Regions from separate parts of the Homo sapiens genome. Here all the other regions are linked to region 1. The links are contacts of gene promoters, found by promoter capture Hi-C in blood cells and fetal thymus (Javierre and others, 2016). All regions are on one chromosome and are shown on one strand. The core of a region is centred on a gene start or on the middle of the fragment in contact, and the rest is flanking DNA. Distances in the headings are between cores, read along the strand shown.

The links. Contacts are between HindIII fragments. The CHiCAGO score rates a contact against its expected background, and 5 or more counts as called.
Region 2: a fragment that was not itself captured here is called in contact with the fragment with the promoter of TMC1 in region 1 in 7 of 17 cell types (non-activated CD4 T cells, naive CD8 T cells, activated CD4 T cells and 4 more); the score reaches 9.4 in non-activated CD4 T cells.
Region 3: a fragment that was not itself captured here is called in contact with the fragment with the promoter of TMC1 in region 1 in 6 of 17 cell types (endothelial precursors, M1 macrophages, non-activated CD4 T cells and 3 more); the score reaches 12.9 in endothelial precursors.
Region 4: a fragment that was not itself captured here is called in contact with the fragment with the promoter of TMC1 in region 1 in 2 of 17 cell types (M2 macrophages and endothelial precursors); the score reaches 5.7 in M2 macrophages.

The regions. Positions count from the first base shown.
Region 1 is chr9:72,518,951-72,526,448 of GRCh38, forward strand. TMC1 (transmembrane channel like 1) reads left to right here and starts at 2,658. Exons shown (of 24, transcript NM_138691.3): 1 at 2,658-2,963. It overlaps LOC101927234 (a long non-coding RNA gene), which reads right to left. Exons shown (of 3, transcript XR_001746721.3): 2 at 6,313-6,419; 3 at 4,468-4,867. RefSeq lists enhancers at 5,801-6,362, 6,363-6,924. The HindIII fragment of the contact is 6,235 bases long and covers 1,307-7,498 here.
Region 2 is chr9:72,323,051-72,330,548 of GRCh38, forward strand. LINC01504 (long intergenic non-protein coding RNA 1504) reads left to right here. Exons shown (of 5, transcript NR_110952.1): 3 at 5,614-5,671. Among named protein-coding and RNA genes, the nearest start is that of LINC01504, 21 kb to the left of the region's middle. The HindIII fragment of the contact is 6,784 bases long and covers 1-6,420 here.
Region 3 is chr9:72,350,480-72,357,977 of GRCh38, forward strand. ZFAND5 (zinc finger AN1-type containing 5) reads right to left here. Exons shown (of 7, transcript NM_001102420.3): 6 at 6,452-6,577; 7 at 934-5,622. The coding sequence ends at 5,474. Among named protein-coding and RNA genes, the nearest start is that of ZFAND5, 11 kb to the right of the region's middle. The HindIII fragment of the contact is 239 bases long and covers 4,564-4,802 here.
Region 4 is chr9:72,376,348-72,383,845 of GRCh38, forward strand. No RefSeq gene overlaps it. Among named protein-coding and RNA genes, the nearest start is that of ZFAND5, 15 kb to the left of the region's middle. The HindIII fragment of the contact is 6,804 bases long and covers 1,121-7,498 here.

The DNA of each region.
Region 1 (7,498 bases), core at 1,408-3,907:
CAGTTGTGCAAAGTAGGCCAGCATTCCAGAGAGCCTTCCGGACATTCGCTTTTAAATTTCTGTGTCCCTAAAACTATGGTGTAAACTGAAATGACAGGACTTACAGCTCTAAGTTATAAAAATCAGAAAGGACCAGACACATTTAAACAATGCCTCAGCATGCAAGCCATTTGTGATAAAGCAAATTAATTTCTAATTTTCTTATTGTAACTTAGGGGAAGTGGTCTTTTGAAAAATTCATATTAAGCAGGGGATGAAAACAGGAAATGGATTTTGCAGTCTTCAGTCTTAATTTAAGATGCCAAATGGCACTGACAATTGCATGTGCTGCCTTTGTTTTAGTGACGGTAAAAAGAAAAAACAGGTTGGGCGCGGTGGCTCACGCCTGTAATCCCAGCACTTTGGGAGGCTGAGGTGGGTGGCTCACTTGAGGTCAGGAGTTCAAGACCAGTCTGGCTAACATGGTGAAACCCCATCTCTAATAAAAATACAAAAATTAGCTGGGCGGTAGTGGTGTGTACTTGTAATCCCAGCTACTCGTGAGACTGAGGCAGGAGAATCGCTTGAACCCAGGAGGCGGAGGTTGCGGTGAGCTGAGATCACACCACTGCACTCCAATCTGAGTGACAGAGTGAGACCCTGTCCCCCAAAAAATAAAAAATGAAATTAAAATTAAAAAATAAAAAAACAGCTGGGAGTCTGAGGCAGGCAGATCACGTGAGGTCAGGAGTTGAAGACCAGCCTGGTCAACATGGTGAAACCCCGTCTCTACAAAAATACAAAAATTAGCTGGGCATGATGGCAGGTGCCTGTAATCCCAGCTACTCAGGAGGCTGGGGCAGGAGAATCACTTGAACCTGGGAGGCAAAGACTGCAGTGACCCACGACAGTGCTACTGCATTCTGGCCTGGGTGACAGAGCGAGACTCTGCCTCAAAAAATAAAAATAAAATAAAAAATAAAAATAAAAAACAAATGAAAACCAACCAAACAACAACAACAAAAGCCAAAAATAAAAATGCCTGTGAGAGATTTCTTAGAGTCACTCATTATTAGTTCATGCTCCCAGTAGAGATATTTCTTCAATCAAGTCCCAGTTTCCTCCTCTTTTATTGCATTCTTTCGTGAAGAAAGCTTAAAGAAATGAATTCTTGTCCTTGGAAATGAGGGAGGACTATACTATGCTTTCTCTAGAAGGCACTACTGTGTGTTTGAGCATGTTTTTCAAATAATTAGTAGGTGTGAGTGGTTCTGCCAATAGACATACTACATTTATTTTCAGTGATCACTTGAAAAACACACCTATAAGCTTATAATTGCTGACATTAACAAACAACAGGTATGAAGATGCTGTTCACAAAAAGTGCATGTAGTTCCATGTGTTTTATTTAGTCTGTTTGAAATGAAGTTTAGCATATCTATAGCACACAGCATGAAACATGTCAGTCATTTTGAATTTAACATTGTGCATAATGTATTCATAAGAATTATATTTATTTATTAGCATTTATCTTCAAATCAAAGGTTAAAAGTTTCAAGATGCACAAAAATGGTTAACTTTCTGTGAGAAGTCTGAGAAATCACTGAAGACATGAAAATGACAGGCTGGAGGAAGAAGTAAAGAACCTAGAAGGCCAAAATGGAATTCTAAGATAACATGAATATAGAACATAGAAAAGAGAAAGGATTGATTGAAAAAAGGAAAGGGGAAAAAAAAGGAATTATTAAATGGAAACATTAGATTCAAGTAAACCCAAAACAATCATCAAAGTAGATGTTAACAGCATTTTGAGTACATGTTGTGAGTATGAGAAGTGCAATTCTAAATGTTAGGCCCTTATGTTTTAACATATCAGCAAATACAATATTTTGTTTCTAATTTAACAAATTTTTAAGACTTATGTTAGTTGTGACATATTTCCAATAAATAATTATGTTTCCCAAGGACACTGGGTACAATAAAGTGGGTCTGACAATTAACTTACCTTTGAAACCTGAGCCCTTCATTAGTTACAGGAATAGACTGGAACATGATTTTTCCTCTCCTGCTTGGAGAACCCACAAGTTGTGTTTTCTTTATGAATATTGGAAATTCTTTCTTTTAGCCAAATGAAGGGTGTGCATTTCTTCGGCCAGGAGTTACCAGGCTGATAATCCTGATGCAGCGGTTCTCAAAGTCTCCTCAGAAGGCCCGCAGTAGCACCAGCAGCACCAAAGGACTTGTTGGAAACACCAGTTTTCTAGGCCGGGCACAGTGGCTCATGCCTGTAATCCCAGCACTTTCGGAGGCCGAACTCCTGAGGTCAGGAGTTTTGAGACCAGCCTGGCCAACATGGCAAAACCCCGCCTCTACTAAAAATACAAAAATTAGCCGGGTGTAGTGGCGGGCACCTGAAATCACAGTTACTTGGGAGGCTGAGGCAGGAGAATCACTTGAACCTGGGAGGCAGAAGTTGCAGTGAGACAAGATCACACCATTGCACTCCAGCCTGGGCGACAAGAGCAAAACCTCTGATTAGAAAAAAAAAAACAAACAGGCGCCGTGGCTCACGCCTATAACCCCAGCACTTCAGGAGGTTGAGGTGGGCGGATCACCTGAGGTCAGGAGTTCAAGATCAGCCTGGCCAATAGAGTGAAACCCCGCCTCTACAAAAACATGATGGCGCGCGACTGTTTCCCATCTACTCAGAGGCTGAGGCGGGAGAATCGCTTGAACCCGGAAGGCGGAGGTTGCAGTGAGCTGAAATCACGCCATTGCGCTCCAGCCTGGGTGACAGAGCAAGACTCCGTCACAAAAAAAAAAAGAAAAAAGAAACACCAGTTTTCTGATTTCACCGAAGACCTACTGCCTCAGAAACTATGAGGGCAGAACCCAGCAATCTGTGCTTTCTTTCACAAGCCCTCCAGGAGTTGCTGAAATTTAGGAATCATTGCCCCAAAAAGTGGCCCTCATAATGATGCCAGGTAAGGAAAGACAACATTATTACCTATGTGTGGTGTGTTAACATTCTTTATGAAACATGTGTGAAGACCTAAATCGAAGACTTTCTCCATGAGATATTCCCTAATCACATTAGTGAAATAAAACTATATTTCCTCTACTTTTCTACTGCTACAGAAATCTCCCCCAGTTAGGATAGTCCCAGTTTCCTATTTATCTTTGTTTTTCTTGCAGTGCACAGCATGTCACCCAGTAATTGATAAGTTTTTTTTTTTTTGAGACGGAGTCTTGCTCTGTCTCCCAGGCTGGAGTGCAGTGGCGCGATCTCGGCTCCCCAAGTAGCTGGGACTACAGGCGCCCGCCATCACGCCCGGCTAATTTTTTGTATTTTTAGTAGAGACGGGGTTTCGCCGTGTTAGCCAGGATGGTCTCGATTTCCTGACCTCGTGATCCGCCCGCCTCAGCCTCCCAAAGTGCTGGGATTACAGGCGTGAGCCACCGCACCTGGCCTAATTGATATGTTTAAATGTTAAAATTAAATGCAATGATTTCCTAAAATAAACAAATGTGGGACAATTTATTGCACTCTGTTCAAATTCCCATTTTGAAGTGGAATTCAAACAAACATGACAGTAAAGGGGGACAGTGAGCACAGGGACAAGAGAAAAGGAGAAAGGGAAGAAATACAGAGAACTAGATAGGAGGAAGTGTCAAAGACTGATGGGTGTAAGCCACCTTTACCTCTGGATATTGGTTTTCCTTTGAATTGTGGTATGTGGTCATATTGCTTATTAGTTATAACATACAGCTGTCAGAAGAGTTTTTCAATTAAAATTTCAAATGTAATATTAAAACTGTTTGGATTCCTTCCTACTGGGCACTGGACACTGTCTGTGGAGCTGCTGGAACAGCGCTGAATAGGGTCATATTTTAAAGGAACTCAGCCTAGTGCAGTTTCTCAACCTTAGCACTATTGGCCTTTGGGGCCTGATAATCCTTTTTTGTGAGGGGCTGTCCTGTGCACTGTAGGATGTTTAGCAGCATCCTTGGCTTCTACTCAGTAGATGACAGTATCAACCCCCTTCCCCAGAAGTGACAATTAAAAATGTCTCCAGACTTTTCCAAATGTCCCCTGAGGAGCAAAATTGTCTCCAGTTGAAAACCACTGGGTTAGTGGGAGAAACAGATAAGACAGAAGTTCTCCATACACCATGATAATGCCATGATGCCATAGGGCTGGCAGGAGTGAAGGGAAGAGCATCTCACAAAGACTCGGGGGGATGCAGGGAGGAGGAAAAATTAGGAAATGAAGTGGGCTGAGTTGCAGTTAGCCTGTGGGGAAAATGAAGGAGAAGGGATAAGGAAGAAGAGGAGGAAGGAGGGAGGAAGAGTGAGGAGTAATAGGGAATTATAGTTGACCTTGAACAACTTGGGGTTTAGGGATGCCGACCCTTGCGTAGTCAAAAATCTGAGCTTAACTTTTGACTACCCTCACACTTTCCTAACAGCCTACTGTTGACCAGATGCTTTACCAATAACATAAACAGTTTATTAACACATATTTTGTATGTTTTATGTATTATACACTGTATTCTTACAATAAGGTAAGCTAGAGAAAAGAAAATGCTATTAAGAAAATTGTAAGGAAGAAAAAATATATTTACTGTTCATTAAGGGGAAGTAGATCATCATAAAGCTCTTCATCCTTGTCATCTTCAAGTTGAATAGGCTGAAGGAGGAGGGGGAGAGAGAAGAGACTGGCCTTGCTGTCTTAGGGGTGGCAGGGATGGTAGAGGTGCAGGAGGTGGAAGGGGAGGCAGGAAAGGCAGGCACACTCGGGGTAGCTTTCGTTGAAAGAAATCTTCATATGAGTGGACCCATGCAGTTCAAACCTGACTTGTTCAGAGTCAACTGTACTTGTTCCAGGCTAAGAACAGAGAATAAAAAAAAAATGTATAGAGGCCTGAAACAGCATATTATATTAAAAGAACTCAAAGCCGGTAAATGCTTTGCTACTGAAGCATAAAGTGAGAAAGGGGCATCATGGGCTCTGAAATTGCAGCCACAAGTCTACAGAACACATTTTTCATAGCCCAAGGTCAGTCTTCTATTACCCTTTGCAGTGAGGTTATCATCATCCATTTTCACTCGTCAGTGCTGGGGAGCCCATTAAATACTTGCCACTATACTTGGTCCCAACAGTTAATAGACTGTAGCATCTTTTATTTCTTCACCTAGCCTGAAATCAGTTGAGCTTTTGCAGAATCTTAGATATGTCGTTTTTTTCTTCAGGTTTAGAATGGGGCACTTAAAAAGATGCATAGTACTTGAAAATAGAGAAAGAAAATAGCATGTAGAAATTTGTGCCTTTATTCTGCCCAAACGTCTCAAAAAGGAAAAAAATAATTTTAAGGGTAAATATTGTCATCAATTTATCTGAGCTCTTTTGACTTCCTTTGAGCCTGAAAAACAGGATCAGTGTCTTTTTAGTATTTACCATAGTGCCTGATATGTAGAAGGTGTTTGACCAATGTTTATTAGATAAATGTTCACTTTTATTACTAGTAATATTAACCACATTTTAATAGAGACTAATAATACATGATAAACTTCTCAAGGATGCGATCTCATTTGATCACTATAACAACCCAATGAGGTAAGCGAGGAATAGTTGTTAACTCTAATACATGTTATATCTTATCCTTGACCCAGTATTACCCCAGTCATGCCTTCCTTTCCCTGCAATGAAAGAAAACCGATAAACACAAAATGTTGTATCCCATATAAGCATTCATTCTTATGGTAGATAAGTAAATGGAAAAGATAGGTATGCATTCTCAATTTTTTTAAGTCCTAGAATTATAAAACAGTAAAGAAGTGAGAAGAGAGAGAAATCTTAAGGGACCAACCTCTTGATTTTACAGGTGAGAAAACTGAGGCCACATAGCCATTTAGTGCAGAGCCAGGATTATAAACCAGATGTTTGGAATCCTATGTGGTGGTGGACACGAGGATATACTAATTAGCGTCGTTACCGGAAAATTCCACATATCTCTAAGGAGCAGATCACCACACACCTGCACAGCCCAAGCCTGGATTGTGGAGGTTTTTCTTGTAGAGTTTGTCTTTGATAGAAAGATACGGTCCAGAAGGCCGGCTTCAAGGACATAAGAAAGGGCATATTCAAAACAAATACATGTATGCCTATTCTTTTAAACCGGTACTTAACAATAGTATCCAGGTGTCCAAATATAATAGCTTATCTGTTTTATTTTTTCCAGAAAAGGAAACAAGGTCTTAGAGAGGTTACATTTTGCATAGGATTTTGTTAGCCAAGTCAGCATCTGTTTGCATCTTAAAAATGAGTCATACCTATTCCTTGTAAGTAGGACAGGAGGGCAGCTGGAATTTCCCAGCTCACTCCTTGTCACTGCTTCCTGCCTCTGCTGCTCTTTGTCCTCCACAGCACGCTTCATTGGCTAAAAAGTGAACCAGATACTACATTACCTCAGGGCAGTTGTAAGTACTGAGTCAGATGCCTTAGGCTTGTGTGATGGGAAGTTTAGGGCGAGACCAATGTCTTGCTTTAACAACAGTGTGAATAAGTTAATTTCTTTTGAGATTTTATTACTCAATATTCCACCCAGAAAGAAACACAGATGACACTCAGCCAATCAAAGGCCATCTGGGACTGACAAACGCAGAGCTTGTTGTAGATGACAAGGCTCAGTGGATGGATCATCACTGAAAGAAAGGGAAACAGTTTGAACTGTTGTATCTCTCTCCTTGCTCACATGAAAAACAAAAAAATCCTTGGCCAGTTGCGGTGGCTCACGCCTGTAATCCCAGCACTTTGGGAGGCCCAGGCGGGCAGATCACTTGAGGTCAGAAGTTCTGGACCAGCCTGGCCAACATGGCAAAACCCCGTCTCTACTAAAAATACAAAAATTAGCCGGGCGTGGTGGCACACACCTGTATTCCCAGCTACTTGGGAGGCTGAGGCATGAGAATTGCTTGAACCTGGGAGGTGGAGGTTGCAGTGAGCCAAGGTCGTGCCACTGCACTCCAGCCTGGATGACAGAGTGAGACTCCGTCTCAAAAAAAAAAAAAAATTCCTTAACCACAGACTAAGTAAGCATTATTGCACAGAGTGTCATTCGCTAATCTTGCTTGTGCCTGAACTTTGAAAGCACCAGCCCCTTGCTTTGGGGGCTGGGGGCGTGGGGTGTAAGTGTGTGTGTCCTCTAGAAGAAGACAACACTGAGAACAGAAGGAGAGGATCTTGGAGATTTGTTAATTTCCTATTGCAGTTAGCCTTGTCTGGGGCTCTCACTTTAGCACTTAAAATAACATACTCCTTTGCACAGATGTTATTTTTTTCTCTTCATGTGTACAACTTGAATTATCCAATGGCCTTGCTTTGAGGATATTCATCCTATCTTATTGATCCTGTCACTGTGTAGGACAATGGAGAACACAGTAAAAAACCCTCAATGGATACTACTTACACTAAATTAACTCTATGAATTCAAAATTTGAAGATGCTACTTAATCATGT
Region 2 (7,498 bases), core at 1,779-4,278, 200 kb before region 1:
AGAGGCTTGGACTGCTTCTGTGTCTCTTTGTTGTGCTTATCTGGGAGGGAGAGTTGTGTGTCTGTTCCCATACATCTTTCTGCAGCTGCAGGCATACCCCCCAATTCTGCTTTTAGCTTCCCTAACTTAGTGCACCTGAAGGGAAAGGAATGTGCTTATTGGGGCCCACTGTTTTACCGGGGCCCATTGTATGAGGGCGAAGTTTGGCAGTTACCCAAGAGCCTTTCCCCCCACCTCTGTTTATCTGTGTTTTACTGTCTGCTCTTTCTGGCTGCTTGTAGTTAGAAGAGAAGTGATTTCCTTGAAATGCATGACACTAGAAAGAGAGCTGGAACTTAAAGTGGTGGTGTTTGTCCAACATGACGGTGCTCCTGCTCTGTCAAGCACTGGTGACATTTGGGCTGGATAATTATTTGTTGTGGGAGACTGCTCTGTGTCTTGCAGGAGGTTGAGTCTCCACCCACTAGATACTACCAAGTAGTACCACCTCTCCTGCTACAATAGGAAAAAATGTCTCTAGACACTGGCATGTGTGCCCTGGAGAGTGGTATAGTTTCCTATTGCTGTGGTAAGAAATTATGACAAAGTTAATGACTTAAACACAAATTTATTCTCTCACAGTTCCAGAGGTTGGAAGTCTGAAATGAGTCTTATGAGACTAAAATCAAAATATTAGCAGGGCTGGTTCCTTGTGGAGGCTCTGAAGGGAGAATCCATTCCCTTGTCTTCTTTCAACTTCTAGTAGCCACCTATATTCCTTGGCTTGTGTCCTCATTTACCTCTTCAAAGTGCATCTTTCCAAACTTGACTTCTGTCATCCTATCGCCCTCTCCTCCACTCTGACTCCTTCTACCTTCCTCTTAGAAGCACTGTCGTGATTCTCTTGGGCACACCTGCATAACCCAGGCTCATCTCCTTATCTCAAATCCTTAACTTAATCACATCTGCACGGTGTTTTTGCCATGTGAGGTAATGTTCACAGGTTCTGTGAGTTAGGATGTAGACATGTTTGGGGGCCCATTATTCAGTCTACCACTAGGGCAAAATTGCCCCATGTTGAGAACTACTGCCACAGAAGAATGGGGCCAGATAACCTAGATTTGAGTCCCAGCTGCACTTACCTACTAGCTGTGTGACATCAGTTTTCTGTTTTTTCTTTTTTTTTTGGTGGGTGGGGGAGACAGAGTCTTCCCCTGTCTCCCAGGCTGCAGGGCAGTGGCGAGATCTTGGCTTACTGCAACCTCCGCCTCCCAGGTTAAAGCAAGGCTCCTGTCTCAGACTCCCGAGTAGCTGGGACCACAGGCGTGCGCCACCACACCTGGCTCATTTTTGTATTTTTAGTAGAGATGGGGTTTCACCATGTTGGCCAGGCTGGTCTCAAACTCCTGACCTCAGGTGATCCACCCGTCTCGGCCTCCCAAAGTGCTGGGATTACTGACGTGAGCCACCACACCCGGCCAACATCAGTTTCTCATCTGTAAAATGGAGCTAGTAGTAGTACTTACCCCATGGAATTTTTTTTTTTGAGAAATAAATGAGATAAAGCACACAAAGTCAAGCAGTTATCAAAGTCCTTGTGATATGGTTCTTAATACTTGTTACCTATTGAAAATAAAAGTAAAGTTACATTTAGGATTTGTAAATATGTGGATTAACTTCATGGACAAATGTAGAAAATGACAGTGGTCTCTAAGGAACAAGCCCCTGGCTAACTTGGAGTAAATAGCACAATCATAATTGTTTAATTATGAACATGCTCTAATTCTCATGCCACTCTTACAAGGTATGTGAGGTCACACAAGAGTTTCTCCAATAAGTTTTTATATATTTATTGAAATGTACTAAAAGTTTCTATTTTATGCTTTTTACATGTAGTAACTCATTTAATGCTCACAGCTACTCTGAGACATAGATAATATTGTTATTCCCATTTTACAGATGAAGGAACGAGGGCACAGAGAGATTCGAGTTGTCACCCAAGCTCACATAGCACCAGTGACAGAGGTGAGATTTGAATCAGGCAGCCTCTGTCTAGAGTTCCCTTCCTAACCTCCATTCTATACTGCTTTCAAAGATCCAGCCCTTCCCTCAAATCACGTTTTCTTACTTAGACTAGGGTTTGATTCATGTTTACTCACTGGGAATAAAGGTCAGTTAAACAGAATGAGAGAACAGGAAAGTCTTTCAAAATGATGCTTCTGTCTACTTACATTGTCTGTTACTTTAACAACTTAGGGATTCTTGGAGCAAGTAAAGAACCAAATATAAAGACTGCTTTGTGGGAGGTAGCTTGGATCCTTCATCATTTTTTTTCCCCCCATAACTCCTGAGTTCCACTGGAGACACAGATTCTCTGGGGGTAAGATTAGCGGATTCGTATTTTAACAGACCTCTGGCGGTTCTTCTCTATGCTAAAGTTTGAGAACACTGCTTTCAGCATTTCTAATCTCATCTCAAATTCATCAGGGAGCTGTTTCCTCCTTCATGAAAAAATCTTTGACTTAATGATAGCTACCCAGGCCTACCTTATTAGCTAAAGGGGGCATAGAGACTTAACTCTCAGTGGTTGACAATTATTGTAAAGTAATTCTTGCCGTTATTTTTCTCCCCTAAGGGTAAACTTAGCAGCAAATGGCATACTAGTAACTTAACCAATTGAAAGGGTAACAGCAAAACTAACAACCAAGTTTGCTTTTGATAGGTAGAATTGGCTGCCTATAAGGTGTGACATGAAAGTTGAAGGAAGGCTCACTTTTGCAAATATCTTTCCCACTGTTCTGCCAGGGGGAAGCAATTTTTTGGTTTGGGTTCCCCTAAATTCCAAATATGTTACCTAGGAGGAGTAATAAGTTATACATTAAACTGTTATGATTCAATCACAGCTTTAAAAAGATCGCAAAATTAGCTCTCAGGTTACTTAGCAAATAACCAATTAAGGTCTTGAGAGGATAATATTTGGGATGGGAAAATTTAGGTGGGTAGAAAAAGGCTGAGCAAAGTCAAGAATGTAGGCTGTTACCAAAGGCCAAATGGCAATACTGGACCAGCATATCTTCTTCTGCTATTTCCTTTATGCCCCTGAGGGTTCTTCTGAAGCAGGAGTTGGCAAACTTTTTCTTTTCTTTTTCTTTTGAGACAGAGTCTCACTCTGTTACCCAGGCTGCAGTGCAGTGGCATGATCTCAGCTCACTGCAACCTCCACCTCTGGGACTCAAGCGATCCTCCCGCCTTAGCCACCCGAGTAGCTGGGACCACAGGTGCACACCACCACACCCAGCTAATTTTTTTGTATTCTTGGTAGAGACAAGGTTTCACTATGTTGCCTAGGCTGGTCTCAAACTTGTGAGCTCAAGCGATCCGCCTGCCTTGGCCTCGCAAAGTTCTGGGATTACAGGTGTGAGCCACCACACCTGGCCGCATACTTTTTCTATAAAGAACCAGATAGAGGCTGGGCATGGTGGCTCACGCCTGTAATCCCAACACTTTTGGAGGCTGAGTCGGGCAGATGACCTGAGGTCAGGAGTTCAAAACCAGCCTTGACCAATATGGTGAAACCCTGTCTCTACTAAAAATACAAAAATTGGCTGGGCATTGTAGCATCTGCCTGTAATCCCAGCTACTGGGGAAACTGAGGCAGGAGACTCGCTTGAACCTGGGAGGCAGAGGTTGCAGTGAGCTGAGACTGCACCATTACACTCCAGACTGGGCAACAAGAGGGAAACTCCATCAAAAAAAAAAAAAAAACCAGACAGAAAATATTTTAGGCTCTTCAGTCATGTGGTCTCTGTCGCAACTGCTCAACTCTGCCATTGTAGTGTGAAAGCAGCCATGGACAATATGTAAACAAAACAGTGTGGCTGTGCTTAGTTATGAATCCTAATATTTGAATTTAATATAATTTTCATGTTATAAATTTTTAATTATCTTGTTTTTTCTCAACCATTTAAAATATGAAAATTATTCTTAGTTCAGGGCACATATAAAAACAGATGGTAGGCTGGATGGGCCAGTTTATTGATCCCTGTTCCAAAGCAAAATCAATTTGCTGTTTTCAATACATACTCCATGCTATCCTACTTCTTTACATTTGCTTTCATTATTCCTTCCACTTACGTAGAAGGAGCCCTACACACCCCAACCTACATGCCCATATGTACCCATCACCTAGTTCAATTATTAGCTTATTTTCAAAGTAAACTCTCATCCTCTAAGTGCCTTCATCTATACTTCTCTGATGGCCTTGATCATGGCAGATTTGTATTACTTTGTGGTCTGTGATTTTTTTTTAAATTTTATTTGTTTACGTATTTATTTATTTTTGAGATGGAGTCTTGCTCTGTTGCCCAGGCTGGAGTACAGTGGCACGATCTCTGCTTACTGTAACCTCCGCCTCACGAGTTCAAGTGATTCTCCTGCCTCAGCCTCCCGAGTAGCTGGGACTACAGGCACACACCACCGCGCCCAGCTAATTTTTGTATTTTTAGTAGAGATGGAGTTTCACTGCGTTGTCCAGGCTGGTCTCAAACTCCTGAACTCATGATCCTCCCGCCTTGGCCTCCCAAAGTGCTAGGATTACAGGCATGAGCCACTGTGCCCAGCCAGGATGTTTTATTTTTATATCCTCCATGGCACCGAGCCTAACAGAGTTAGCAAAGTGTCCTAAGTCAAGGAAGAACCATCAGCATTTAGGAAACAGCATAAAGATTGTACCCGGCCAAAAGTGGAATGAAAGTAGTTAAAAGAGAAGTGAAAACGTTTCTGAACACCTATAGTGGTTTGAATGACAGCCTCCCAAAAGATAGGTCCTTGTTCTAAAACCTGAACCCGGACAGGCGTAGTGGCTCACGCCTGTAATCCCAGCACTTTCAGAGGCCAAGGCAGGTGGATCACGAAGTCGGGAGTTCAAGACCAGCCTGGCCAACGTAGTGAAACCCCATCTCTGCTAAAAATACAAAAATTAGCTGGGCATGGTGGCGTATGCCTGTAGTCCCAGCTACTCGGGAGGCTGAGGCAGGAGAATCACTTGAACCTGGGAGGCGGAGATTGTGGTGAGCCAAGATCATGCCACTGCACTCCAGCCTGGGCAACAGAGTAAGACTCCACTCAGATAATAGACAGATAAATAAATAAATAAATAAATAAAACCTGGACCCTGTGAATGTGACCTTATTTGGAGAAAGGGTCTTTGCAGATGTAAGTAAGTGAAGGATCTTAAGATGAGATCATCCTGGACTACACCCAATGATAAGTGTCCTTAAAGAGACAGAAGAGAAGACACACAGAGAACGCCATGTGAAAATGGAGGCAGAGATTGGAGGGATATAGGCACCTGGAATGCAGAGGGAGTGAATTCCTGCCAACACATAAATTTCAGACTTCTGGGCCCCAGATTGTGAAGAATAAATTTCTATTGTTTTAAGCCACTCAGTTTGTGGACATTTGTTACAGAAGCCCTAGGAAGCTAATACAACCCTCACCACCTGCTTTCCCAAGTTGTGTTAACAAATATCTAATATTTATTTAGCACTTGTTATATTCAGCTTTAAATAGATAATTACATTAAACTTTCACAGCAATCTTATAAAATAGGCATTATTATTATTCCTTGTACAGATGAAGAAACTGACATCTGGAGAAGTTGAAGTAATTTGCACAAAGATTCACTTGGCTAGTAAGTCATGAAACCAGAATTGAACCCAAGCAATCTGATTCCAATTCTCTTCTCTTTTTTAAAAAAAATTTATATATATACATTTGTTATTATACTTTAAGTTCCAGGGTACACGTGCACAACGTGCAGGTTTGTTACATATGTATACATGTGCCATGTTGGTGTGCTGCACCCATCAACTCGTCATTTACCTTAGGTATTCCTCCTAATGCCATCCCTCCCCCTCCCCCCACCCCATGACAGGCCCCGGTGTGTGATGTTCCCCACCCTGTGTCCAAGTGTTCTCATTGTTCAATTCCCACCTATGAATGAGAACACGTGGTGTTTGGTTTTCTGTCCTTGAGATAGTTTGCTCAGAATGATGGTTTCCAGCTTCATCCATGTCCCTACAAAGGACATGAACTCATCCTTTTTTATGGCTACATACTATTCCATGGTGTATATGTGCCACATTTGCTTAATCCAGTCTACCATTGATGGCCAGTCCTCTTCTCTTAATCACTGTTACCTGTTAGGTTCTTAATCATTCTCCTTACATTTCACATACCTTAACAGAGAGGAAGAAATGTTGGTTAATGACTTCCTTCTTTGGGGAATGATATTTCCTAAACTGGATTTCTGCTCTCCCAGCTACTCATTCTTGGTGAACAAGCATAGAATAGTCTACTGCTCAGGTCAGGACAACAGAATCTCTCTCTGGGTCTCCTGCCCTTCATCCTTCTCTGATTCCTAAGGTGGGGGAGCTTGGAAGCTTTATGTTAGCCTTTAAAGAGTATGGCCTTCATGAAAGTCTGTTCCCCTGAGCAGCTCTATTTGAATGCATTTAATAACTGTAGCTTCTAGTTTCCAATAAGGAAAATAAATAAGAGGAAACACAACTGCAGGCAGCACTGGGATGATGTCAACAATGGAAATATCAGCATGGTTCCTGGAAAAGTCATGGAGAGCAAAGTGCTCAAGAGCCATTGAAATCCTTTCATAGGAATAGGTTCTGAGGACCAAATGTTGTTAGAGTCTTCAGGGAAGCAAGATAGCACAGTGGTTAAGAGCATGAGTGCACTTGGGTCTAGGTTTGAATATCCTGGCATTATCACTTACTAGCTCTGTGACTGAGCAAATAACCTTGAGTCTCAGTTTTCTCATCTTCAAAGTGGGGAATAAAAATATTACCTACTTCATAGGTAATATTTATGTAGAACACTTGCACACGTAAGCCCTCAATATTATCAAAGTGTTAGCTGTTAAATTGTGTATGAAAGTCTTGAATGAAGGTTTTCACTCACCGCCTTTTCTCTCACCACCACCCTTACTCCTTTCCCTTTTACTAAATATAATTTTGCCACTTTGGCTGGGCGCGGTGGCTCAACGCCTGTAATCCCAGCACTTTGGGAGGCCGAGGCGGGCAGATCACTTGAGGTCAGGAGTTTTGAGACCTCCTGAAACCTCATCTCTACTAAAAATACAAAAAATTAGCCGGGTGTGGTGGCGCATGCTCATAATCCCAGCTACCAGGGGGCTGAGGCAGGAGAATCACTTGAACTCTAGAGGTGGAGGTTGCGGTGAGCTGAGATCGCACCATTGCACTCCAGCCTGGGTGACAAGAGTGAAACTCCATCTCAGGAAAAAAAAAGAAAAAAAAATTTGTCACTTCATTAACTTTTGAGTACCTCTATGGAGACCAAAAGTAAGTCAGCAAGAATAAAAAGAAGAATGCACAAAGCTTACACAAACTTTCCTTGAAAAATAATTACAAAAATAAAAAATGTTTTCAGAAAAAAGAAATTTTACATTACCAAAATCAAGATTATTTTACTCTATTCTAACCCA
Region 3 (7,498 bases), core at 3,433-5,932, 170 kb before region 1:
GCATAGACAATTTTTGCAGGCATTTTAAAATATAACACAGATGCTAAAGGCTAATGGCTCGGATGGCAGATTATTCTTATTTAAATATTACAATTTTTGACTGTAGAGTTACTTTTACAATATTAGTGTAAAACTTAACATTAGAAGCCAAATAATTTTAGTATGTGGATATTATTTATAAGACCTACTATGGGATAAATCTAGGGTAGGGGTTCCTCAGGAAACATGACCCTACTAAGGAAGAACTTTTCTCATTAGGGTGGACATGAAACCACAACACCAAGATGTGTAAGAGTTTTCTTTAGAGAAATGCTTGAGGTTCTATAATAGTAGACAAATACCACACAACAGAAAATCTAAATCGTATTTGTCAACTGGTATTGTAGTTGCATGTATGAATACATTTTTAGTGATGGGAAGGGACAAGAGGGCAGAAGCATATTACATAGCAAGGACCAGCCAACATTTTTAATTTATCCTGGATTATATTCACAAGATCAGTCTGAAAAATTTACCCAGACACAAGTATTTAAGATGAGGTCATTAGGCTAATTTATTTGTATTTTTTTTCCTGGCTGATGCCTGAGCTCTACAAGGTAAGTGCTTAATGTTATTTTGTTAATAGTTCTTGCACTTATCTAAAATTTAAGAATGTGTAACAAGGATTTCCTGTTAACTTCTGAGTTGACTGAAAAATTACCCCAATTCCTGAGCAGCTTTGGTTACATTATCAATATATACAGGCTGAGGTCCTGTGGTGTCAATAAAAATCATCATAAAAAATGTATTCAACACAGATTAGCCAACTAGAAAATAATCTGTAACTTCTTTCATCTTGCTCTTAACTACTTAAGTATCCTTAGCAACATCCCTACCCATAATAAAAGGAAAGTGGCACTTAGCAGTTGCAGACAAAATGGAGTCTTACATTTATGGCACAAAACAAAACAAAAAAAGTCTTACATTTATTAACTTTACTTCTATGGCTGTAACAGAAATACTCTGGAAGAAAACACAGAAACAGTCTTTGCTTTTATATAAATTTAAAACCAGCACTTGTGCATAGAAATAGCTATAAAATATTAAATGGCACTTTTGTATTCTGTTGTACTTTTTTTTTTTTTTTTACATTTGCTACACGGTATTTATTCAATGACTGTATATTTAGTCACCACCTCAACCACTGCTAAGCTCTCTTCATGTCTATCTGTACCAGTTTCCCATCTTAGACTGTGATGTCAACTGGCAAGGGCTGGCTGTTGGCCGATTCACCATGACTGACATGGTGCATGTTCACTTGTTTTTAAAGCAGATTGTACAAACAGGAGAAACAAACAGGGGAAACTGTATTTCCAGTTTCTTTTTGTTAACAGCCTGTTGCCTCACCCATGCAAACTCTTCTAGCTAGTTTAAGGCTACATAATCTTATTGCTAATCAACCAGCAACCATACCTATCACTCTCCAAAATTATAAGTTAATACTTATGGACAAAAACCACTATTGAGAACTTTGCATTCAAACAGACAAGAGTCGGCCAGGCGCAGTGGCTCACACCTGTAATCCCAGCATTTTGGGAGGCCGGGGTGGGCGGATCATGAGGTCAGGAGATCGAGACCACCCTGGCTAACACGGTGAAACCCTCTCTCTACTAAAAATACAAAAAAACCCAAAAAACAAAAAACATTAGCCAGGTGTGGTGACGGGTGCCTGTAGTCCCAACTACTCCGGAGGCTGAGCCAGGAGAATGGCGTGAACCCGGGAGGCGGAACTTGCAGTGAGCTGAGACCATGCCATTTTACTCCAGCCTGGGCGACGGAGCCTCTGTCTCAAACAAACAAAACAAAACAAAAACAGACAAGAGTCAAATCAAGTCTTTGTACATATTCAAATATTTACATGTGGAAAAGATTAAATAACCTTTCTAAATTATGAGTTACCTAAAATGTATGTGTGCCTTTGAAATGGAGGATATGGGACAGCTTGAGAGGCTTTGCTTCTCAGTGTGTATTGATAAATCCATGTGAATGTTATTACCAACCCCCAAAATACAATAATAGTATGCTTAACATCTTGCTATTATTAGATTATTTCCCCAATTTTAGTTATTTCCTAGCAACTTTATTTAATGCAGATCTCTTGCAAAGAAAGCCTTACGGAAAAGAATGATTCTAATGACTTTAAACTGCAAGTTTAAATAACAAATCTTTATCTTTTCACTATACAACTTGATGTAACCAATCCTGTTCTCAAAGTTTTCTTCCCAAGTTATGGAAACCATTATTCCAGAACATTAAGACAATAGCAAATACAATGTGCCAGGCACAGTTTTAAGTGTTGTCACCTTCACACTCCTGAAGGTGGTTGCTGTCTTCATTTAAGAGATGAAGCAGTCCAAAGTGGACCTAAAATAACTTGCCCAAAATCACGGGCTGGTTCCAGGGTCCCTCATCTTAATCACTATGCCATAATGCTCAGAAACAGCTTTCCCTCACAAACTAATTTTCCCCACGTTGTGGGAAGCCTACCTAGGATCAAACCTGAGGCTCTAGTTTTACAGATCAGGCACACTGAAGATGAGGTTTTCAAAAAGGACTCACCCATTTATACTGCGAATTCATGTGGTCACAGCCTAACAAAACTTCAGGTCATGGGGGTGTAAATATTTGTCTGCTTATGTAAGGGAAACATGGTATATTATTAAATTGCTTAATATCTGTACATTTCAAAGGACTTCATGGCCTTGCATTCAGGTTTGAATGCAAGAATTTGGGTAGAACTGAGTCCTCTCAGGTGCCTTACACACTGATTCCCTTTCTCCCCAGTCAATGGACAACCCTGACAAATCTTTGTTCTGATCTGGTTTAATGTTTCTTGTAAAACAAACAAACAAAAAAAAAACAAAAAAAACTGATTGGCCGGGTGCGGTGCCTCACGCCTGTAATCCCAGCACTTTGGGAGGCCGAGGCGGGCAGCTCACCTGAGGTCAGGAGTTCAAGACCAGCCTGACCAACATGGAGAAACTGTCTCTATTAAAAATACAAAAATTAGCTGGGCGTGGTGGCTGGTGCCTGTGATCCCAGCTACTTAGGAGGCAGAGGCAGGAGAATCACTTGAACCCAGGAGGCAGAGGTTGCAGTGAGCCAAGATTACGCCATTGCACTGCAGCCTGGCCAAACAAAAATCTATCTCTTGCTACTACTCAGACCTTCAGAGTGATGGAGTCCGAGGGCTCATCTTACCTTCTCTATACCACTCTTACTTCCATTTTTAACTTGAAAAATTAAGTTGCCCTTCTAAATCTTCAACTTCTAAATTTTCAACTCAATTGTGACTTTTCATATTCAGAGAAATACTACCCTATGTCAGTATAGGAACTTTGACATACATATGTACCTCCCTAACTTGAAGCAAAAGTAGCAGCATGCAAAGAACTGACAGATAAAACTAGGGTATTTCCACCCCAAACTCCATCACAGAGAAGCAACAGTTGCACTCTGGTAATCATTTACCCCAGGTAAAGTCAACATGTACCTGTCACCCCTTGTTCTTTATGATCTGGCATAAACGCTACAGAGACCAAGTCCATGGGTGAATCTCTGTATTAGAGCCAAACCCAAAACAGAAATAAAACAGAACTCTTTTTGTAAACTAAGTCATACCTACTTTCTTCTTCAGAATTGTCATAAAACATCATCTTTTACAACATGGAGAAGCGAGGTAGGCCATAATTGTTCAAATTTCATCTTTCTCAAATTTTAAAATTGTTTTAATCCCAAAGGTGCCTATTGAATTCTTCAAAAATAAACTGCCTATCAGGTATCATACCTGCAAATGCTTCTAATATCTCTTGATTATCACTTGAACAAGTTCAGCGATGGCAAAGGAAAAAAAATTATATAGCCATGTAAAGTAACATTTTCTAATTTTCCCCCTTTAGGACTCCAACTATGGCTTAAAAACCCAATGAACAAGTGAAGTTTCCCTCTGTACATGGCTTTTATTATTTACATAATACAATATAGCATCAATGCTGAATAGCATGATTATGTGCAATACATAAATATGAACTATCTGTACACATCTGCAGGTCTAACTCAGAACTAAGGTACATAAAATTGAAAGCAAAACTGAATGCTTTAAGAATAAAAGTAAAAACTAGGACTGAACATTGCAATAAATCAGAAGTAGTGCCTCGTGTACATACTTAACTATTTACAGATGAAAACAGGCATTACCACAACACTAACTATACTCATTTATATATAAAAAACACAAGTTTCATACATCACAAAAAACCTTCCATTATAACACAGAAGTGATTATTACCAGACAAGCATCAGTGAAGTATACTGCCTTTTCTAGTTGTTATTGTACAATGCTGTAGATAATGCAGCCCATGCAATACACCCAAGAACACTAGAGTCCTACACCCAAGTACAATATGATAAAGCAGCCCTCTGCAAGTGGTGCTGGATACCACTAAGAAGTCTACTGCAGCCATGTTGGTTATGATTTTCCATGCAGAAGGGTACAGTTACATTAAGAACTGAAGTCTTTTAAAAAGCTTTAAACATTCTTTCTTGAACCAAAACATTCGACAAAAGATGCACATGAAAAATTATTCAGATACCTTTGCAACTTAAAATTCAGATGCATGTTATTCAATAGAGCTGCTGTATGTGAAAACCAAACGTAGAGTTTAAATTTCTTCTTGTAAACAAATTAATCCTAGTGCAGTTCTGTGCTACACATTTTTAGCAATGAGTAATGCAGACATCTTCTGGTGCAGGCCAGTACAATAAGCTTCAAAGGTTATCTCAAGACCCTGTTGTTGGCTTGATGGTTTTACTTATAACCAGTTTCGATGTTTACCTTTCACAGAATGTCTTATTTGACAGCTTTAGATGACCAATTTAACCAGGCTTATATATGGCGCCAAATACTGGTTTCACGGGAAAGAAGGTCTGATCCTCTTTATGAGCATTTCTTCCTGCTTCCAAAGAATATGTTGTGAAATTAAAGAGGGTGAAGTTTAACTATGGTAGAAGTAGACTGCCAGTCCTTTTCTGGTGTACCATTTTAAAAAAATACAGGCACATAACACTAGCCAAAGATTATACCTTGATTACATTCCCAAAAGGCAGATATGCTGCAAACATGCAGAGATTTCATTTATTTTGTTTGGCACATGGGAACTACATTTTGTTCCTATTATCTGTGTGTTTCACTTTGCTGTGCAGATTTTCATCCAATTTTTTTCAGGGGAGGGCATATACATTTGTAGGGCTGTATCTATCCAATTCTGCCTGTAACAAACACCCAAACATCCTAAAATATCAATTATAAGACAGACAAGTGTAATGTAAAACTCTGGAGAACATCAAAGAAAAATGGCCATGCATCTGCTCTTTAATGTTTTCCTACGATATATTAAAATAAAAACAAAGTTTCAGTCTCTTCACAAGAAGTAATTTATATTCTCTGAATTTTTTCAGCCACAACAACTGGATTCTCTTTTCTGATTTTTGCTGCAGCTTCTGCTTTGTAATCATACGGACAGTTGTGCTTGTCAGAGTAACGGTGAAGTCCACAAAACAAATTTCCACATCGGCAGTCAAACCCTGTACAAACGAAGAAGTAGAGTCATTTGAGAACTTGAGGCAATTAAAAGAAAAAAAAGCCTTAGTCACTATAGAAAAGGAACCAGATTTTCATTGCTTTGTAACATAAAAGACAGTGAACTCTTTTCTTCCACTTCCTGGTGATAAGACACAGTCAACTCTTACAGAGTCTATCACGTTAACCTGGAAAAGGAACTTTTAACTTCCTTTGACATGGTGAGAAATTCAAATAACTATGTTCAGTCTTTCCTTGCAAGGGCAATAGCGAAGTGTTTGGTAAGCCAAACCACGTGGAGAAAACAAAATGGGCTATCTGCCAGCTAATTTCTCCCAGATGCTCTCCCTCTATCGACTCCTGTAGATGCAACGCAGGATAAAATTTACACAGGCTCTGGAGTTAGGCTAAGCTGGATTCAAAACACAGTCCTACCATATCTTAAGTAATGCTTCCTCAAGTGAAAACAACCATCAAGGTCTGAGATTTGAAGGAGACAAGAAAAAAAGCACCAAGAACATTCCCTGCATAGCTCAAAGTAGGTGGCGCTTACTGTTAGTTCAGTAACATTTTCCCTAGGTATACAAAAACTTTTTATCAATCTAATAAAATAAGAGGGCCTGAGTTAATAGTTTTATATGATTAGGAGACAAATGGAAGTAAAACCCAACTTCTTTCCACCCCAATACCACCTCCTCCACCTTTCCTAGACTACAGCTAGTCAGGCTTTTTTTTTTTTTTTATGTGTAAGACCAACTAGTCTCTTAGGGAGTGACCAAAAGCTCCTTGTTAACTGCAGAAGTAAAACATACATTGTCTTGTGTTTTGTAATACCTGTAAGACCAACTTTCTTTCTGCACATGAAACATCTGTTTTTCTTTGGTTTGGGCAATTCAGGAGCTTTTTCTTCACTCTGAGAAGTACTGGGCTGAGAAACTGATGGACTGGGCTGAGTGACAACTGAAAAGGACAAAAACACAAATTTGTCAAGCATTCACTGGCTAACATTTTTAAGTCAAAAAAGGAAGTATTTAAGAGAAACAGGAAGATGCCTGATAAAAATGTTTATAAGTATTCCTTGAAAATACAAGCTTTAAACAGAATCTTCCATTTTAACATCAGAACTTGATTCAAATCTGAGAAATTCCTGCCAATCACCATACTACTTGCTTCTCTAATTTTGTAAAATGATCGCTTCACTCAAGAAATTCCTTTAAAACACTGGTAACAGCCAGTACTAAAAACAAAATCCTAATTCTGTTTTAAAGAGCTGGGAGATGTTAATCATATGCTCAGTTTTTCCACGTTATAATTTCCTAAATGCAAACTTTTCAATCAGGGCAGTTCAAATTCATTACATCACAGTAAATAACAGTAGCCAACTTTGATTTTATGCTTATAGGAAAAAAAATCCTGTAGATATAAAAACAGCAAATTTTGACAAATAAAACTCAAACCATTCATCCCTAAATCAACGTCAGATCCAAAAATTCCAAAACAATCATTTTACCATTTTCACAGGTGCACTAAACATCATAGGAAGACTTGAAAGATTTTTTTAAACCTTGGTTTTAAAAACAGATCGGCAAACAGTCTTTAGAAACTACTCGAGAAGTATTGATTTTAAACTATTAAGGATTCCACAGGCAGAACAAGAATCTTATCTAAAATGGGCATCCACTATCGACAGAGATAGCATCTACAAACAGTCCCACCGTTTCTCCACCTAAAAAGGCTTTAAGTTTCAGTGTACACATGGCATCAATAAAATTTCTCACAATGAACAAAAAATACATTACTGTACTAAAGCCCACACTGCCACTAGTTCTTTAACACAAAAATAACAAAATTTATATCTACTTACATATAATTCAACTACAC
Region 4 (7,498 bases), core at 3,273-5,772, 140 kb before region 1:
ATGACTTCTAAAGTCCCTGGCAATTATAAGACTGTGATTTCTGGCCAGGCACAGTGGCTCACACCTGTTATCCCAGTACTTTGGGAGGCTAAGGCAGGCGGATCACGAGGTCGGGAGTTCAAGACCACCCTAGCCAACATGGTGAAACCATGTGTCTACTAATGATACAAAAAATTAGCCGAGCATGGTGGCATGAGCCTGTAATCCCAGCTACTCGGGAGGCTGAGGCAGAAGAATCGCTTGAATCTGGGAGGCGGAGGTTGCAGTGAGCTGAGATTGCACCATTGCATTCCAGCCTAGGCGACAGGGCGAGACTCCATCTCAAAAAAAAAAAAGACTGTGATTTCTTTGAGTGCTTATTTAAATAGGTAAATTTATGGTTAATTTAATGTTTTTAAAAAAATTTCATTCGTTTGTAGTCACTTGACCTTATAGTTAAGATAGAATATTTAAAGATGTTAAAAAGACAGAATTTTACAGTAAATTAATTTTTTTTTTTTTGAGACGGAGTCTCGCTCTGTCGCCAGGCTGGAGTGCAGTGGCTTGATCTTAGCTCACTGCAACCTCTGCCTCCCAGGTTCAATCGATTCTCAATCTCTTGACCTTGTGATCTGCCCGCCTTGGCCTCCTAAAGTGCTGAGATTACAGGCGTGAGCCACCGTCTCCATCCAGTAAATCAATTTTGAAAATAAAAACCAATACAGCAACATGACTACATAAAGATTAAAGGAACTATATGTGTTACGAGCAAATAATGTTTAGTATTTATTTTGTGCTTACTTTGTGCTTTTATATGCCTTATCTCTAATTCTTACAATAATTCTTTGAAGCAGTGATGATCATCCTCTTTTGCAGAGGCAGAGCTGAGGCACAAGGAGATAAGTAACATGTTTAAAATTGTATAGTTGCTATCTGAGAATGAAGTCAAACCCAGGTCAGTCTGACTTCCAAAGTCGAATTCTTTCCAATATAGTAAGTGCCTTTCCTAAACCATTGACAGTTGCAGAATTTTCGACTTGCAGTGAATACTAGAGGGTCCTCTCCAGTACCCCACCCAGCATAGAAGTCTTCTAAACAACATCTCCAGACCGGGTGTGGTGGCTCACGCCTGTAATCCCAAAGCTTTGGGAGACCGAGGCGGGCAGATCGCCTGAGGTAGGAAGTTCAAGACCAGCCTGACCAACATGGAGAAACCCTGTCTCTACTAAAAATACAAAATTAGCCAGCCAGGCGTGGTGGCACATGCCTGTAATCCCAGCTACTCGAGAGGCTAAGGCAGAAGAATTGCGTGAACCCGGGAGGTGAGCCGAGATCATGCCATTGCACTCCAGCCTGGGCAACAAGAGTGAAACTCCATCTAAAAACAACAACAACAACAAAACATCTCCAGCATTCAGATTCTGTGCTGGTACCGCTAATACTGTGAAAGGATTTGCTCACAAGGCAATCTATTCCAACTTCCCCAGAATCCTGAGATAAGATTTAATCAGGCTGGGCGCGGTGGCTCACGCCTGTAATCCCAGCACTTTGGGAGGCCGAGGCAGGCGGATCATGAGGTCAGGAGATCAAGACCATCCTGGCTAACATGGTGAACCCCCCCCGTCTCTACTAAAAATACAAAAAATTAGCCGGGCGTGGTGGCGGGCGCCTGCAGTCCCAGCTACTCGGGAGGATGAGGCAGGAGAATGGCATGAACTCGGAGGCGGAGCTTGCAGTGAGCAGAGATCGAGCCACTGCACTCCAGCCTGGGCGACAGAGCGAGACTCCCTCTCAAAAAAAAAAAAAAAAAAAAAAGGAACTTTAGTGTTCCATTTAAATATATTCCACCACTATTAAGATACCATTGGGGCCAGTCATGCTGTCACCTGTAATCCCAGCACTTTGGGAGGCCGAGGTGGGCAGATCACCTGAAGTCAGGAGTTTGAGACCAGCCTGGCCAACATGGTGACACCCCATCTCTACTAAAAATACAAAAATTAGCCTGGCATGGTGGCAGGTGCCTGAAATCCCAGCTACTCAGGAGGCTGAGGCACGAGAATCTCTTGAACCGGGGATGGGGAGGTTGCAGTGAGCCAAGATCGTGACACTGCATTCCAGCCTGGGAGACAAAGTGAGACTCTGTCTTAAAAAAAAACAAAAAAACAAACAAAAAAACAAAAAAAAACATTGCCAAAAAACAGCTAACAAATTTTATTATAAAAAGACTTACTGAGAGATCATGCTCAACAGTGTGGCTATTTCTTTTCTTTTTTTTTTTTGAGATGGAGTCTCGCTCTGTCACCAGGCTGGAGTGCAGTGACACGACTTCGGCTCACTGCAACCTCTGCCTCCCGGGTTCAAGCAATTCTCATGCTTCAGCCTCCCGAGAAGCTGGGATTACAGGCACGTGCCACCACACCCAGCTAATTTTTGTATTTTTAGTAGAGGCAAGGGTTTCACCATGTTGGCCAGGCTGGTCTCCATCTCCTGACCTTGTGATCTGCTTGCCTCAACCTCCCAAAGTGCTGGGATTACAGTCATGAGCCACCACGCCTGGCCCAGTGTGGCTGTTTCTTTCAGTTTGTACTTGGGTATAATTTTGTGGACACTTTACTGTGGTCAATCCTTGTTATCAGTTAGTGAATTATTTGCCCTATACCTCATCTACAGCAATCCGGATACTTTGGCACTTGCAGCAAACTGTTTTTCCTCCTTTTTTTTAGAAGGATGTTAGGTGTGAGGGAGAAGGAAGAGGAACAAAATAACGACAGAAGAATTGAGTAGAATTCTTTCCTCCAGCTGTTTTTTTTGTGTTTTTTTTTTTTAAATTACAAAGTATTAATAATTTATGAACAAACTCTTTGTAAAAATTTTAAGCAACAAATAATTTTTTTTTGAGACGGGGAGTCATCCTTGTGATTTGTTTAAATACATAAGGTTTTGCTATATGTGTTGTTTTGCAACATGCGCCTTGGGGATCTTTCCATGTAAATTATTTACCTTATTCATTTTAACAAATTGCAGAGTATGAGTGGAATGTAATTATTTTAATCACTATCCTACTGATGGATATTCAGGTTGTTTGCATTTCTTAGCTATGATAAACAATGTTGATAAGAGCATAAGAATGCATTAATATTAATTATTTTCATTTTAAAGATACCATTGGGGCATGGTGCTGGTGGCTCACATCTGTAATCCCAGCACTTTTTTGTTTTTTGTTTTTTTTGAGATGGGGTCTTGCTCTGTTGCTGAGGCTGGAGTACAGTGGCACCATCTTGGCTCACTGCAACCTCTGCCTCCTGGTTCAAGCGAATCTCCTGCCTCACCAGCTAATTTTTGTGTTTTTAATAGAAATGGGGTTTTGCCATGTTGGCCAGGCTGGTCTCGAACTCATGACCTCAGATGATCTGCCCGCCTTGGCTTCCCAAAGTGCTGGAATTATAGGCATGAGCCACCATGCCCAGACTCAAAAATATACATTTTTTACCTGGGCTTTGCTTGTGCTCAAATTTTAGTCCTTGTGGGTAGAAATAATTTTTAAGATGGAAAATAAATCTTACTAACTTAACTGACTGTAAGTTTTTAGTATTTTCTTTCTCTCCCTCCCTCTCTCTTCTTCCTTCCTTCCTTCTTTCTCTCTCTCTCTCCCCTTTTTCCTTCCTTCCTTCCTTTCTTTTTCTTTCTTTCATTCTTTCTTTCCTTTTTTTCTTTCTTTCTTTTTCTCTCTCTTTCTCTCCCTTCCTTTCCCCTTCCTTCCTTCTTTCCTTCCTTCCTTCTTTCTCTCTCTCTCCCTTTCTTTCTTTCTTCTTTCTCTCTCTGTCTTTCCTTTCTTTCTCTCTCTGTCTTTCCTTTCTTTCTCTCTTTCCCTTATTCTCCCTCTCCTTTCTTTTTCCCTCTTTCTCTTTCTTAACCTTTGAAAATACAATACATACAGGACATTTAAGATTCACTAGAAAAGAATCAGCAGCAGAGGAGGAGAAATCCTGCGTCATTTCTCCCCTATCCATAGCTAGTTATTTTAATAACAATAGGTGGCCAGGCATGGTGGCTCATGCCTATAATCCCAGCACTTTGGGAGGCTGAGATGGGTGGATCACTTGAGGTGAGGAGTTCAACAACAGCCTGGCCAACATGGTGAAACCCCGTCTCTACTAAAAATACAAAAAAACTAGCTGGGCGTAGTGGAGGGCACCTGTAGTCCCTGCTACTCAGGAGGCTGAGGCCCGAGAATCACTTGAACCCAGGAGGTGGAGGGTGCAGTGAGCCGAGATCGCATCACTGCACTCCAGCCTGGGTAACAGAGCGAGACTTCGTCTCAAAAATAAATAAATAGATAAATAAAATAAGATAGGTAACATTTGCTAAGCACTGATTATATGACAGTCTTTGTTGTCACCATTATATATATTAATATAAACTCAATTCTCATAAGATAATTAGGATGTAGTCACAACTATTATCACCATTTTGCTAATTTGGAAATTGTCAGTGGAAAAGTGAGAGAACCTCCACATGGTGTACCTCAAAGGCCTGGACCTTGAGGCCTTATTCATCGTGTGGTAAAAAGAAACAGAGCAGCTCTATCAAGGCACAGTGTCAGCGTATCTCAATCAGGAACTGTTCCACTCTTAATGAGGGTCCAAGTTAGGGTGATCAGCTCCTCTGTTTTGCCTGGTACTTTCCCAGTTTTAGCAGTGAAAGTTCTATGTCACAGTCAACCTCTCAGTCCCAGGCAAACCAAAATGGTTGGTCATCCCAGTCCAAGTAGTGTTTGTTTTGAGGGAAGGTGGGTTGGAATGTATCTGGAGCAGGTGGGTGGTATCCCTATTTAATAGTCAGTAAAGAGAGTTGACAGGACCCTCATTCACTAAAGTGAGTATCTTTTTGGCCAGGCGCAGTGGCTCATGCCTCTAATCCCAGCATTTTGGGAGGCCAAGGCAGGCAGATCACCTGAGGTCAGGAGTTCGAGAGCAGCCTGGCTAACATAATGAAACCCCGTCTCTACTAGAAATATAAAATTAGCCATGTGGTGGTACATGCCTGTAGTTCCAGCTACAGGGAAAGGGAGGCTGAGACAGGAGAATCGCTTGAACCCGGGAGGCGGAGGCTGCAGCGAGCTGAGATGGCACTACTGCACTCCAGCCTGAGCATAAAAAAAAAAAAAAAATTAAGTGAATATCTTTTGATAAATCCACCATATAAATAGTAAGCCAAGACTGTAGACTTCCCTTCACAAGGTCACTAGAATACTTACTCCCTGTGAGACAGGAAAAGATTAAAAGGAGATGAAGCCTACACCTAGGTTGCAATCTAACATATCAGAGGTGCTGTTATGCTAAGGGGTGCTAAGTGTGAAGAGAGACGTAATCTCACAAATTTTCTTTTTTTTTTTTTTTTTTTGGTTATCTTTTGTTTTAGATCTTTTTTGTGTTTTCTTTTTCTTTTTTTTTCTTCTTTATTTATTTATTTATTTATTTATTTTAATCTCACAAATTTTCTGATGGCAAAAGTTCCTACCTTTCCTTTTTCGGCTTTTAATGTCAGGCAATTTAAATGCAATGTCCCGCATCTATAGACCTACAGAATAGTCTGACTTTCCTTGTTTCAGCTGGTCAATAATCCGGGCTACTGCATTATTGATGTGGCACAGATCTAAAGTAGTATGTGCCTGTGTGTTTGTGTGTGAGTGATCTGAAATTAACCTCATTTTACCAAAGATAATATATCCCTTTAAGATAACATTTTAAAAAGGAAGGATTGCATTTTTTCTGACTAATCTTGACATATTTAGAGTTGCGAATAGGACAATTTGAAAAAAAAAAAACTCAAGTTAAAATTGCAAACGGATCAGAAAACCAGGAATCAGTCATGTTTCTTAGCAGATGGTGGGTGCCACGAGAGGGAAGGATGGAACCATGGTCATCCTTACAAAAGGAAACACGAGACATAGGTTTATTTGCTAAGATTTTATAAAGCCTGCCATAAATCTCATTTGAAAATTGCTCTACCTAAGAAGAGATGCTAAAAATGGCCTGCTCCCTGAAATACAAATAGAAGAGTAAACCAATGTTCACATTGTAGTACCGGTTTAGCTCTGAAATTACACTTAACACAGCACAAAGTGACAGAGCAAGTGACATCATTGACCAAAACTACATGGACAGAAGTCCTACAAAGCTCAGGGCTACTGCAGTGCAAGGTCATTGATTTTGCAACAATTTGTTTCTTTTCTGATTTAAAACAAAAAAGTGATTTTTATGCACCAGGAGATCTAATCTATTATGACGTTCATCTTTTAACAGTCATCATTTTTCTTGGAACGTGTCATACTATGTAATCTGAGCAATAAGAACATCAGAAACTGACTGGGAATGTGGTGGGAGATGTGGCCCTGAAAACACTGGAAACACATTGTCTCCAAGGCGAGGGTCACAGGGGAGTGAGACAGTGTTCTCCATAAGAGATGGGGATGTTCTGAACTATAATCAGACAAATAAATTACAAAATTCACCACCTCAGACTTTTTGATGGAAGAACTAAGGAATTAGTTGTACTCTTTGATGCCTTTCTGTTTGCCAAAACAATGGCCTTTCTGATTCTCTTCAGTACATATTGAACGCCTATGACAGGACTAGCAGCTGGCACCCTGGAGACCAAGGTTAAAGATGATCTGGACTCTTCTCCAGAGGAGCTTATGTCTTCCTGAATTCACCCCCTACTGCTCTCACCCGTGCTCACTTTATTCCTGCCATTTGGTCTTCTTTGCTCATCCTCAAACATGCCAACCCCTCTCTTGCTTCAGCACTTTTTCTTTTTCTTTTCTTTTCTTTCTTTCTTTTTTTTTTGAATCAGAGTCTCGCTCTGTTGCCCAGGCTGGAGTGCAATGGTGCAAACTCAGCTTCCTGCAACCTCCACTTCCTGGGTTCAAGCGATTCTCCTGCCTCAGCCTCCTGAGTAGCTGGGAGTAGAGGTGCTTGCCACCACGCCCAGCTAATTTTTGTATTTTTGGTAGAGATGGGGTTTCACCATATTGGCCAGGCTGGTCTCAAACTCCTGACCTTGTGATCTGCCTGCCTCTGCCTCCCAAAGTGCTGGGATTACAGGCGTGAGCGACTGCACCTGGCCAGCACTTTTTCACTTAGTGTTTCTTCCTGCAGAATAGCTCTTGTCCCAGATACCTCACTTAATTTATTCCCTGCTTAAAGGTCACCCTCACAAGGAAGACCTTCTTTTACCCACCATATAAAAGAGCACAAACACATATATACATACACCCACAGATACATACTTTTTCATTATTCTTTAATACTATTTTACTTTTCTTCATTTCCTTTTTTTTTTTTTTTTTTTTTTGTGAGACAGAGTCTTGCTCTGTTGCCCAGGCTGGAGTGCAATGGCGTGATCTCGGCTCACTGCAACCTCTGCCTCCAGAGTTCAAGCAATTCTCCTGCCTCAGCCTCCCGAGTAGCTGGGACTACAGGCACCCACCATCATGCCCAGCTAATTTTTGTATTTT